Linked DNA regions of Homo sapiens: regions 2 and 3 are each linked to region 1. Evidence: promoter capture Hi-C in 16 types of primary human blood cells and fetal thymus (Javierre and others, 2016). All regions are on one chromosome and are shown on one strand. Each heading gives the region's core, a stretch centred on a gene start or on the middle of the fragment in contact. The rest is flanking DNA. Distances are from core to core; before and after follow the strand shown.

What was found. Contacts are between HindIII fragments. The CHiCAGO score rates a contact against its expected background, and 5 or more counts as called.
Region 2: a fragment that was not itself captured here is called in contact with the fragment with the promoter of ARHGEF12 in region 1 in 2 of 17 cell types (total CD4 T cells and total CD8 T cells); the score reaches 6.2 in total CD4 T cells.
Region 3: a fragment that was not itself captured here is called in contact with the fragment with the promoter of ARHGEF12 in region 1 in 6 of 17 cell types (total CD4 T cells, naive CD4 T cells, naive CD8 T cells and 3 more); the score reaches 13.5 in total CD4 T cells.

What each region holds. Positions count from the first base shown.
Region 1 is chr11:120,334,846-120,337,888 of GRCh38, reverse strand. It overlaps ARHGEF12 (Rho guanine nucleotide exchange factor 12), which reads right to left and starts at 1,476. Exons shown (of 41, transcript NM_015313.3): 1 at 614-1,476. The coding sequence starts at 645. RefSeq lists a silencer at 1,020-1,889. The HindIII fragment of the contact is 6,393 bases long and covers 1-3,043 here.
Region 2 is chr11:120,798,024-120,801,066 of GRCh38, reverse strand. All of the region lies in intron 3 of GRIK4 (glutamate ionotropic receptor kainate type subunit 4), which reads right to left. Among named protein-coding and RNA genes, the nearest start is that of TBCEL, 220 kb to the left of the region's middle. RefSeq lists an enhancer at 1,663-2,337. The HindIII fragment of the contact is 219 bases long and covers 1,334-1,552 here.
Region 3 is chr11:120,687,639-120,690,681 of GRCh38, reverse strand. All of the region lies in intron 3 of GRIK4 (glutamate ionotropic receptor kainate type subunit 4), which reads right to left. Among named protein-coding and RNA genes, the nearest start is that of GRIK4, 180 kb to the right of the region's middle. The HindIII fragment of the contact is 6,971 bases long and covers 1-3,043 here.

The sequences.
Region 1 (3,043 bases), core at 227-2,726:
AGCAAACCCCATGATTTACCCTCATTTCTTCAGCTCCTGGACATTGCTTCCAGCAAGAACCTGTGATTTACTGGTAATGTCAACATTCTGGAAAGTTATTAGATAATAATTAAACACCGTGCAGGTCAACATCTGAAAGAGATCAAGTTCCCAGATCACCATGCAGTAGGCTCAACATTAAGTTCACAGGTAGAAATTCCTAAAATGTAATTGTCTTGAGAATCTACTGCAGGACACGGCTAAAGCTGATAAATAATACACCAATACCGAGCCGACTTCAGGCACCGACCTTCACCTAAAATGACCTTCTCCTCTGATTTCCAGACGAGTACACAATCCTAATGCACACTACAGGCGGAAAACCACAATCATGGTTTTGCCTCCCCCTTCTCTGAGAATCGGAAGGGAAGTTTCTCTCCGGAAAAATTACATTTCCAAAAGCCAATCAACTGGATAACTCGGCAGCAACCCCAGGCTAACTGCACAGCTCCGAAACAACCCTCTTTCCTCTGCCTGTCAACTTCGCTGGCCAAAGGCAATCTGCAATCACCGACTCCCCTGCTAGGTCGGGCCCGATTCCGGGAGGCCGAACGAAGGAGGAATTCATACCAACCTGTCGGTGATAGTAGACTGTGTGCCACTCATTGGGGCCCTTGGCGAGAGGTCCTCCTTTTATCCAACTTGCATTTTACAGTAACACCTCCTCCCCACCCCCAGTGCTCTGGGATCAGGCCCAACTCCGTCAGGGACACAAAAGTCCAACTCAAAACTCCATTCAGTCATCTAGACCATCCGACTGTAAGGGGTCAACGGATGCGGCTTGGAGCAAAACAAGTTATCTCCCAAAACGAACTGAGAAAGCCAGGGAGCGAGTCAGTCCAGAGTGAGTCGAGCTAGAGAGAAATCCTCCAGAAGGCACAAGGATAAACTTCCTCAGAGAGGGAAATCCGCGCGCAGTGGGAAGGGGACCCGGGACTCCCGCCGGGGCTGGGGCGGGATCAGCTCACGGACGGGTGTCGGCTCCTCCTCCGGAGTCTCGGGGCCTCGAACTCCCCGCCGCGGCAAGGGCCGGGGCCCTCCCTCCCGGCTCTCTATCTGGGGCTGCCGGCTGCTCGTGGCCGCAGCGTTGGCCGCGTCTCCGGCCGTCCCGCGCCGGGCTCGCGCGATTCCATGTCCCGGGCCCGGGGCTCCTTCTGTGCTCGCCGCCCTCACCAGGCTCCCGGTGCTGGGACGAGCCGCTGGCGCCGGCGGAGAGGTCCCGCGGCCCGAGGTGACAGGGACCCGGGTCTCTCAGCGCCGCGGACTGCTCCCCATCCCTTTGAGGCCCGGACTCTTCCGCAATCGCCAGAGGCGGCGGCTCCTCCCCGACGCTCCCCGCGAGGGGCGGGAGATGCCCGTCCGGCCCGGCCTGGAAGCCCTGGTCCGGGAGGCGGAGGCGGCGGCGTCTCCCGGCGCAGGGCCGGCTCGCCGGGTTCTGGAGGCCCTCGCGGGCGCGCGCGCAGACAGCGGAGGAGGCCGGCGGCCGTGGGGGCCGCGCAACCGCGGGCGCGCGCGCGGGTTCCGGTTCCGGTTCTGGTTTCCCGGCCCTGGCCGCGTCCGGCGCGAGCTCGCGCTTCCCGTCCCCCGCCGACTTTATGGCCCCCTCCCCTCTGACTTCGGGAAGCCGCCTCACCCGGGATCCCTCCGCCGCTCAGGGCCGCGCTCTCGCCCTTGAACGGACGCCTCCGCCGGAGCCCGGTTTGGGAGAGCGGCAAAGTAGTCCTACGGGGCAGAGGGAGGTGGGACCCGTGCAGCCCCGGGAGGCCCACCCACCTCCCGCGGCGCCTGGGCCCCTGAGTGCCGAGACATGCCCCTTCGAGTCCAGTTTGTACTAAGTCGACTTTCACCAGAGACCGCCCGAGAGCGCCCCCCAGATCCCGAGGACATCGTGCCGGGAGGCTCTTTGAAAATTACCAGCCCCCCTTGTCCTGGAAACTTTTATTACTTAAGGGAATGTATTATCTCTCCTGTCTTCTGGCTGCACGCGTTCTGCCGGTTCCCGGCCGGCGCCCCTCGCTGCCTCCGCAGGCCCCGCTCACCTGGGCACCTGCCGGCTCCGGGGGGAGAGCGCTGCATGAGCCGGAGGCGCAGGGCTGCGGGAGAGCAGCTGGGGACTGCAGCCAGGGTTTCTCGGTATAAATATTACTTTTAGGCTGTTTCTGCCTTGGCAAAATGAAATGTGTTATTTGCCAAATTGATAAAGCATGGTGCTTTCCATGGCGACTTAACAAGCGTGTTGTGGAAAGAACTGGGAGAAGAAAATGAAGTATATTTATCCAGTAAATAGCATTACGGTTCTCTCTGAAGGATTCCCAAACGGTTTTTCGGTTTTTTCCCCTACTGGGTAGAGAGCTTTAGATACCCATCTAGTTTTATGATTGAATAATTCAGTATTTTGGCAATTTAGGTACCACATGTAATACAGTTCTTCAGTTCTGCCTGCAAACATCCAAAGTGGCTATTCCCTTTATCCAACTATTTTCAGACTTTTGAGCTTAAACCTATGTTGGTGACAAGGGATTTCAGCCATTTTGTGGAATCCAAGTAGCAAATCAAATCTAATAAACAGTGGATGTGGAGAGAGGAAACAATTACCTCTTAACAATGCTGTTGCAAAAAGTCATTCCGCAACAGTTCATGAAAGGATCATTATCCCCGAATAGAGGCATGAGCTCACGCTGACGTTAGTTAGAACGGGGGGGAAAAAAAGGAAAAGATAAACAGAGACCAGAGACGACTCTTTATTGCTCGATTTTTTAGGTTCAAGGCACAGCCAACTAATTTTGTAATGTTTATTTTTGGAAAGAATAGAAGCAGATTAGCCAAGGCACTTCCCTAATGATGAGACCAGGACACATTGCCACCTGCTGGTGTATTCTAGCATGACAATTCTACCCTGAAGACTCTTAAATTGAGTGTTTACATGCAACCGGAAGGAATCCCATTCATATATATATATATATATATATATATATATATATATATACACACACACACACATATA
Region 2 (3,043 bases), core at 194-2,693, 460 kb before region 1:
TCTTTTTGGGGGTGATGAAATGTTCCTAAAATTGTGATAATAGTTGTGCTACTCTGTGAATATACAAAAAGAAACCACTGAATTATATACTTAAAGTGAATTACGTGGTATGCAAGTTATATCTCAAGAAAGCCATTACATTAAAAGAAATATTTATCTTTCAGAGGTTGAGAATTCAGAAAAGCAACACAGGGAATCAAGCCGAATACATTTCACTGACACGTGGCCCTTGAATGTCTGCGCGGACGCAGAGATCCAGGTTCTATGCTGTCTTTTCTGTGCATTGCTCCACACTCACTGTAATCCATCCCACAAACCCAAAATCAGGACACAGAATATTGCAAAGCATTTCTTCCTTGATTTGTGGATTTATTTACATGCATAACTTCATTGAATAATAAAAGTTAAATGTCATTTACTCAGGTTGGCCATGCATGGGGCGACAGAGGTACATCCCAAGTCCGAGGCAATCAAGTGGACTTCTGGGAATTAACTAGCAAAGTCCACGCATACCTGGGGTGATTAGCCACCCGCAGAAGTGACCAGAGCACCATAAATGTGACTGAAGAGCCTGGGAACATTTCAATCACCCCCACACCCCCACCTGCGGGAAGCACGACCAGAATGAGATGGCTACTGAGAAAGCAGAAACCGAGACAGTCATGCTGTGGCATAAGAGAATGACGACCTTGCAACTAGAAAGGAAGCAGGGCAGCCTAGAGGAATGCTTCTCAAATGGTCCTCCCTGGCAGGCCCCTGGGCTCCTCCAAGAAGTGGAGGGGAGGCTGCCTGGGGTCTCCAGCCCCATACCAGCTCCCACCATCACAATTCCACCTGCATCCATTTCAGGGGTTGGGGTTCCACCTAAGAGTTGATGTGGGAAAAAATGTTTTGCTATTAAAAATATAATAGGGGCCAGGCACGGTGACTCACACCTGTAATCCCAGCACTTTGGGAGGCTGAGGCAGATGAATCACCCGAGGTCGTGAGTTTGAGACCAACCTGACCAATATGGAGAAACCTCGTCTCTACTAAAAATACAAAAAAAAAAAAAAGCCAGGCATGGTGGCAGGCATTTGTAATCCCAGCTACTCGGGGTGCTGAGGCAGGAGAATTGCTTGAACCCGGGAGGTGGAGGTTGCAGTGAGCCGAGGTCATGCCATTGCACTCCAGCCTGGGCAACAAGAGCAAAACTCTGTCACAAAATAAATATATAAAATAGGAAAAAATTAGCCAAGCTGTACAACAAGGAAAAGAGACATCTAAAGTATCAGGAACTGGCAGTGCCATCCAGCATGAGTTGGACAGACACTGGATCCATGACACACAAGCTTTACATTAAGCTACAATGTCAGCATAACCACTTAGTGGACTCTATCTCACTTAATCTCTGCAACAAGTCCATGAGGTGGATATTTTATCTTCACTTGGACACGAGGAATTGGAGGTCAGAGAGGTCATGATCTGCCCGTTCTCACAGGTTTGAAGCATGACAGAGGAGGGAAGTGAGCCCAGGTCAGCCTGACTCCAGACCTTGCACCCTGACCAAGCTTGTCTTCCTTCTTATAAAAACTCAAGGATTTGCTGCGAAGCAGGGGGTGCGCTAGGGAGCGTGCATGAGGCTTCCAGGGACTGTAAAGGAAGCCTCCATCTACAGACTGTAAATGAACCCTAAAACACCAATAGCAACAGGCTTGCCCCTGGACCTCTGAAAACTCTCTCAGGTAACTCCCCCTCCTCCCTTCTCCCTGTCCTCCCTCCACCCCATTGAGATGGTGTTCAGACCATGGAGGCAGCTATCCTTCCCTTTGGGCCAAATGAGCTCACTGTTACCAATGTTTCCATCTATAACCTACTAACTATTTAACAATCACTTGTAGTAAGATAAATAAAGTAGTAAAATAATCTCTCAGAAAATGAGCATGTCCCCTGTGGGCCTGGGGACTGGGAATGTTTTGATGTAGTTGTTCATGTTTCAGAGTCACGCTGGGCCTGCCTCTGCCTCATCAGTGTTCAAAGGCCACAATTACGCCTGCACCACAGGAGGCAGCACACACCAAAGGGTCTGCTCCGGAGCCAGCAGTCCCACCTATCCCCATTTTGTTTTGGCAAAGTAAACATTCAAGAGTGTGCTGTGGACTTCAGCAGGTCCCACCAAATTCATATACTGAAGTTCTAACCCCCAATATTACTGCCTTAAAAAATAGGGTCTGTAGGACAAAACTAAGGTTAAATAAGGTCATTAGGATGGGACCTTGATCTGATAGGATCAGTGTCCTTATAAGAAGAGACACCAGTGCCTCACGCCTGTAATCCCAGAACTTTGGGAGGCCGAGGCGGGCGGATCACTTGATGTCAGGAGTTCAACACCAGCCTGGCCAACATGGTGAAATCCTGTCTCTACTAAAAATACAAAAAAATTACCCAGGAATGGTGGTGTGTGCGTGTAATCCCAGCTACTGGGGAGGATGAGGCACGAGAACCGCTTGAACCCAGGAGGCGGAGGTTGCAGTGAGCCAACAGGATCATGCCACCGCATTCCAGCCTGGTCGACAGAGTGAGATTGTCTCAAAAACAAAACAAAACACAACAAAAACAAAAACAAAACCTGGCATAGTGGCTCACACCTGTAATCCAGCACTTTGGGAGTCTGAGGCAGGTGGATTACCTGCGTGAGGTCAGGAGTTTGAGACCATCCTGGCTAAGGTGGTGAAACCCCATCTCTACTAAAAATACAAAAAATAGCCAGGTGTGGTGTCGGGCACCTGTAATCCCAGCTACTCGGGAGACTAAGGCAGGAAAACCAGAAGGCAGAGGTTGCAGTGAGCCGAGATTGTGCCACTGCACTCCAGCCTAGGCGACAACAGGGCAAGACTCCATCTCCAAAAAAAAAAAAAAAAAAAAAAAAAGAGACAGCAGAGCTCACTCTCTTTTTCTCTCCGCCACGTGAGGATAGAACAAGATGGCTATCTGCAAACCAGGGAAAGGGTCCTTAACAGGAAGCGAATTGCCTGACACCATGATCTTGGACTCCTAGCCTCCA
Region 3 (3,043 bases), core at 214-2,713, 350 kb before region 1:
GGGGCTGCTGTCCCCATTTGGGAGAAATGGCCCCTCTGGGACCCATCTTGGTTGCTCAGGTGGTATTCTCACTCTGCAGGTTCAACTACTGTTACCCGGCTTCCAATTCATGACAGGTAGGGCCCTGGCTCCAGCTGCCTGGCTGCCCATGCTCGACTTCACTCTTAGAATAAAAAGAGATTGGCGCAGCCAGTTCTTGCTGCAGTGTGGGGGCTCAGCTGGTGAGAGCGTGAAACCAGGAGGCAGGGTCACAGGTTTCAGCCCCATGTGTGCTTTGCCAAGGATTGCAGTGGGAGAATGTGGCTGGACAATAGAGATGTGCCTAGAAGCACAAGCCCACACAAAAGATCATTCTCGAACATCAAGCTGCAGGGCATTCTATGTGAACACTACCCACAAACATCTTACCATGCTCTCAGGAGTGAGCATTTTTTATTCAGCACTTCAACACCAGACACTAAAGCCACTCACGCACCAGGACGACAGGGCAGCTATGCTTCAGCATTTAGGGTCTGGAGTGACGAGGGGAGCAGGTAGAAGCTGACTCTGAGCATTTTCCTAACCTGTTTGCACAGATCTCCTACCCAACCATAAATCACTTTTACAGTCCTTCTCAAACCTCACATAAAATTTATGTTGCTTTTTGCCTGAAATTGACTAAGGAAAAAAAAACTTTAATTACAATAAGAGACACCTGGAGCAAAACACATGGAAAGCCCATTCGATACTCATTTACTCATTCGATCAATAAATATTTATCGAGCACCAGGAATGCACAAGGCACCAAAGGAGCTGTGGTGGAGACCATGGAGATGAAAGGGTGTTCTCCTGCCTTCAAGGAGTTTGCCCTGGCGGGGGTGTGGGAGTAACCAACAGACAGAGACAAAAGCTGCTATGAGATGAGCAGAGTGTGATTTATTTTAACAGAGGAGGAAACTATCAGGTAACTCAGAAGAGAAATGACTCATTTGGACTGGGAGGATCAGGGAAGTTTCCAGAAAGGAGGTGATATGTGATCTGGGTCTGAGGTAAAGGGTAGACTTTTCATCAGGTGAAGATGGCAGGAAAGGACATTTCAGGCACAAGGAACACCACCAAGAAAGCCAAGGGACAAAGAAAGTGCTGGTTGTCTACAGGAATACTGAGTGGCCAAGTGAACTCTAGAACAGGGGTGCAGTGTAGGGTTGGGAGGGAATGGAGGAAGATGATGAAGGAAAGGAGGGTGGGTATGGCTGGATCATGGAAGGGATACTGCACACTAAGGAGTTGGTATTTCATAAATAAGAGAAACCCTAAGAAATTCCTGGGCTGTCAACAACAGCCAGGTCTGTATTTTGGGAAGAAAAGCATGGGTTCAACATTTAGAATAGGCTCAAGAAGTGAGGGATGGGAGGCAGGTAGGAGGCTCTTGCCAGGCAAGAGGTTATGAAGGCTCGACGAGGGTAAGGGCAGAGGCAATGGAAACTTCCGGTTTCCATAGAATTATGTCCGTGTTATCTCAATATTGTAGCAGCACTATTCCTCAACCTGTTCCTTCTGCCTGGAAGGCCCTCCACCCATCCCTGTGGCTTACCCAAGCCCTGACTGGGCTTGGTGCTCCCAATGCAGCAGGGGCCTTCTTCCATCCTAGCACCTAGGACTATTGTTATTGATCATCTGGTTACTTGTCAGCCTCTACCATCAGACTGTGAAGTCCTGAAGGGTAGGACTTTGGTCTTTATCTCTGTTTTCCCAAGACCTGGTGCAGAAAGGTTTCTGTGATGGAAGGGAATATCCATACAATGCTCTCTGCACATACAACCTCTCTTTCTTCCATACCACATCCATAAGCACACTCCATTCTGGCATATATATGGGCTACTCCCATGTTCAACCTCTCTCTTACATCTCACGCCCTTTCTGACCCCCATTGCTCTACTTCCAATGTAAAGCATCCTTGACTAGCCTCTCTCAACCCCATTAAAATGTGATTAATTATTTTCGGCTCTCATGCAGATCTCCATATTGGATTATCTGGGCTGAAACACAATCTGTTTGCTGGTATCAAAATGCTGCTACTCACCCATGGGATTAACACTCTGACAAAATCATTAGAAACCTGATGAAGTATCGAGGCCTCCTGGGCTTGCTGAACACTCATTCCTCATCCCAGTGAATGCCTTCTTCCTGGGCCCACAGTTACACTCCCATCCATTTCCCTGCCTTCTTCATGGTGAGGCAGCCCAGACACTCAAGGGAATGCCTTAAACAGTGTTTGCTCCTAGTTGGCTGGGCCAGCTACCAAGACACCCAGCTAAGAGCTGCTCTTGTAATCCTGTGGTTTTTATGTGTTAATAGTAAGCATCTGACTTCCTCTTCGGGGTAGGGTGGGATAGTTTGTGGCCAATCAATGCTTCCACTAAGAACTAGAAATGCTAGAAGAAATATAACAATCATCTGTTTCAAGGCACCATTGACCTGCTGGAGCAAGAAGGATGGGAGAGGATACAGTTACTGAGGGGGGAAAGTGTGAAGAGGTGAGCTGATATTCTGTAATCACTTCCGGAGGGTATGTCATTTCTAGGCCCAGGATGAGAGGCTGAGAACCCAGGTTTGCAAGAAGCAAAGACTGCTGCTGGGGGACAAAGAAGCCAGCAGAGCTCTGGCAGCCTTGGGACTAGAGAGAGAAAATTAAGGACTTGAGGGTCCTCAAATATAGGGTCCCAATTTTCTCCTTAAGTCATTTACAGAATTCTGAAGCTGAATGGAGGAGAAGGCCAAAAAATCTCAGCCGAAAGTCTCTATAAAGCAGAGAGTGTTTTCTGGCCATTCTGAGGCACTGAACAGCAAGACTAGAATTGAGGACCTGCTGGGGAGGGGACCCAGTAAACACAGGAGGCTCTCAACTAATGGTGGCTCTGCTCTGGGAAAGGAGTGAGCCAGAGGTAAACTAAATCTGACCAAAACACAACCCGGCAGGGACTCAGTTCAGGCTTTAATTGGATTAAGATCATTGGTTTTACTCTGCCTAGCAATGAGTAAAACACCTCTTGAGGAAGATCAC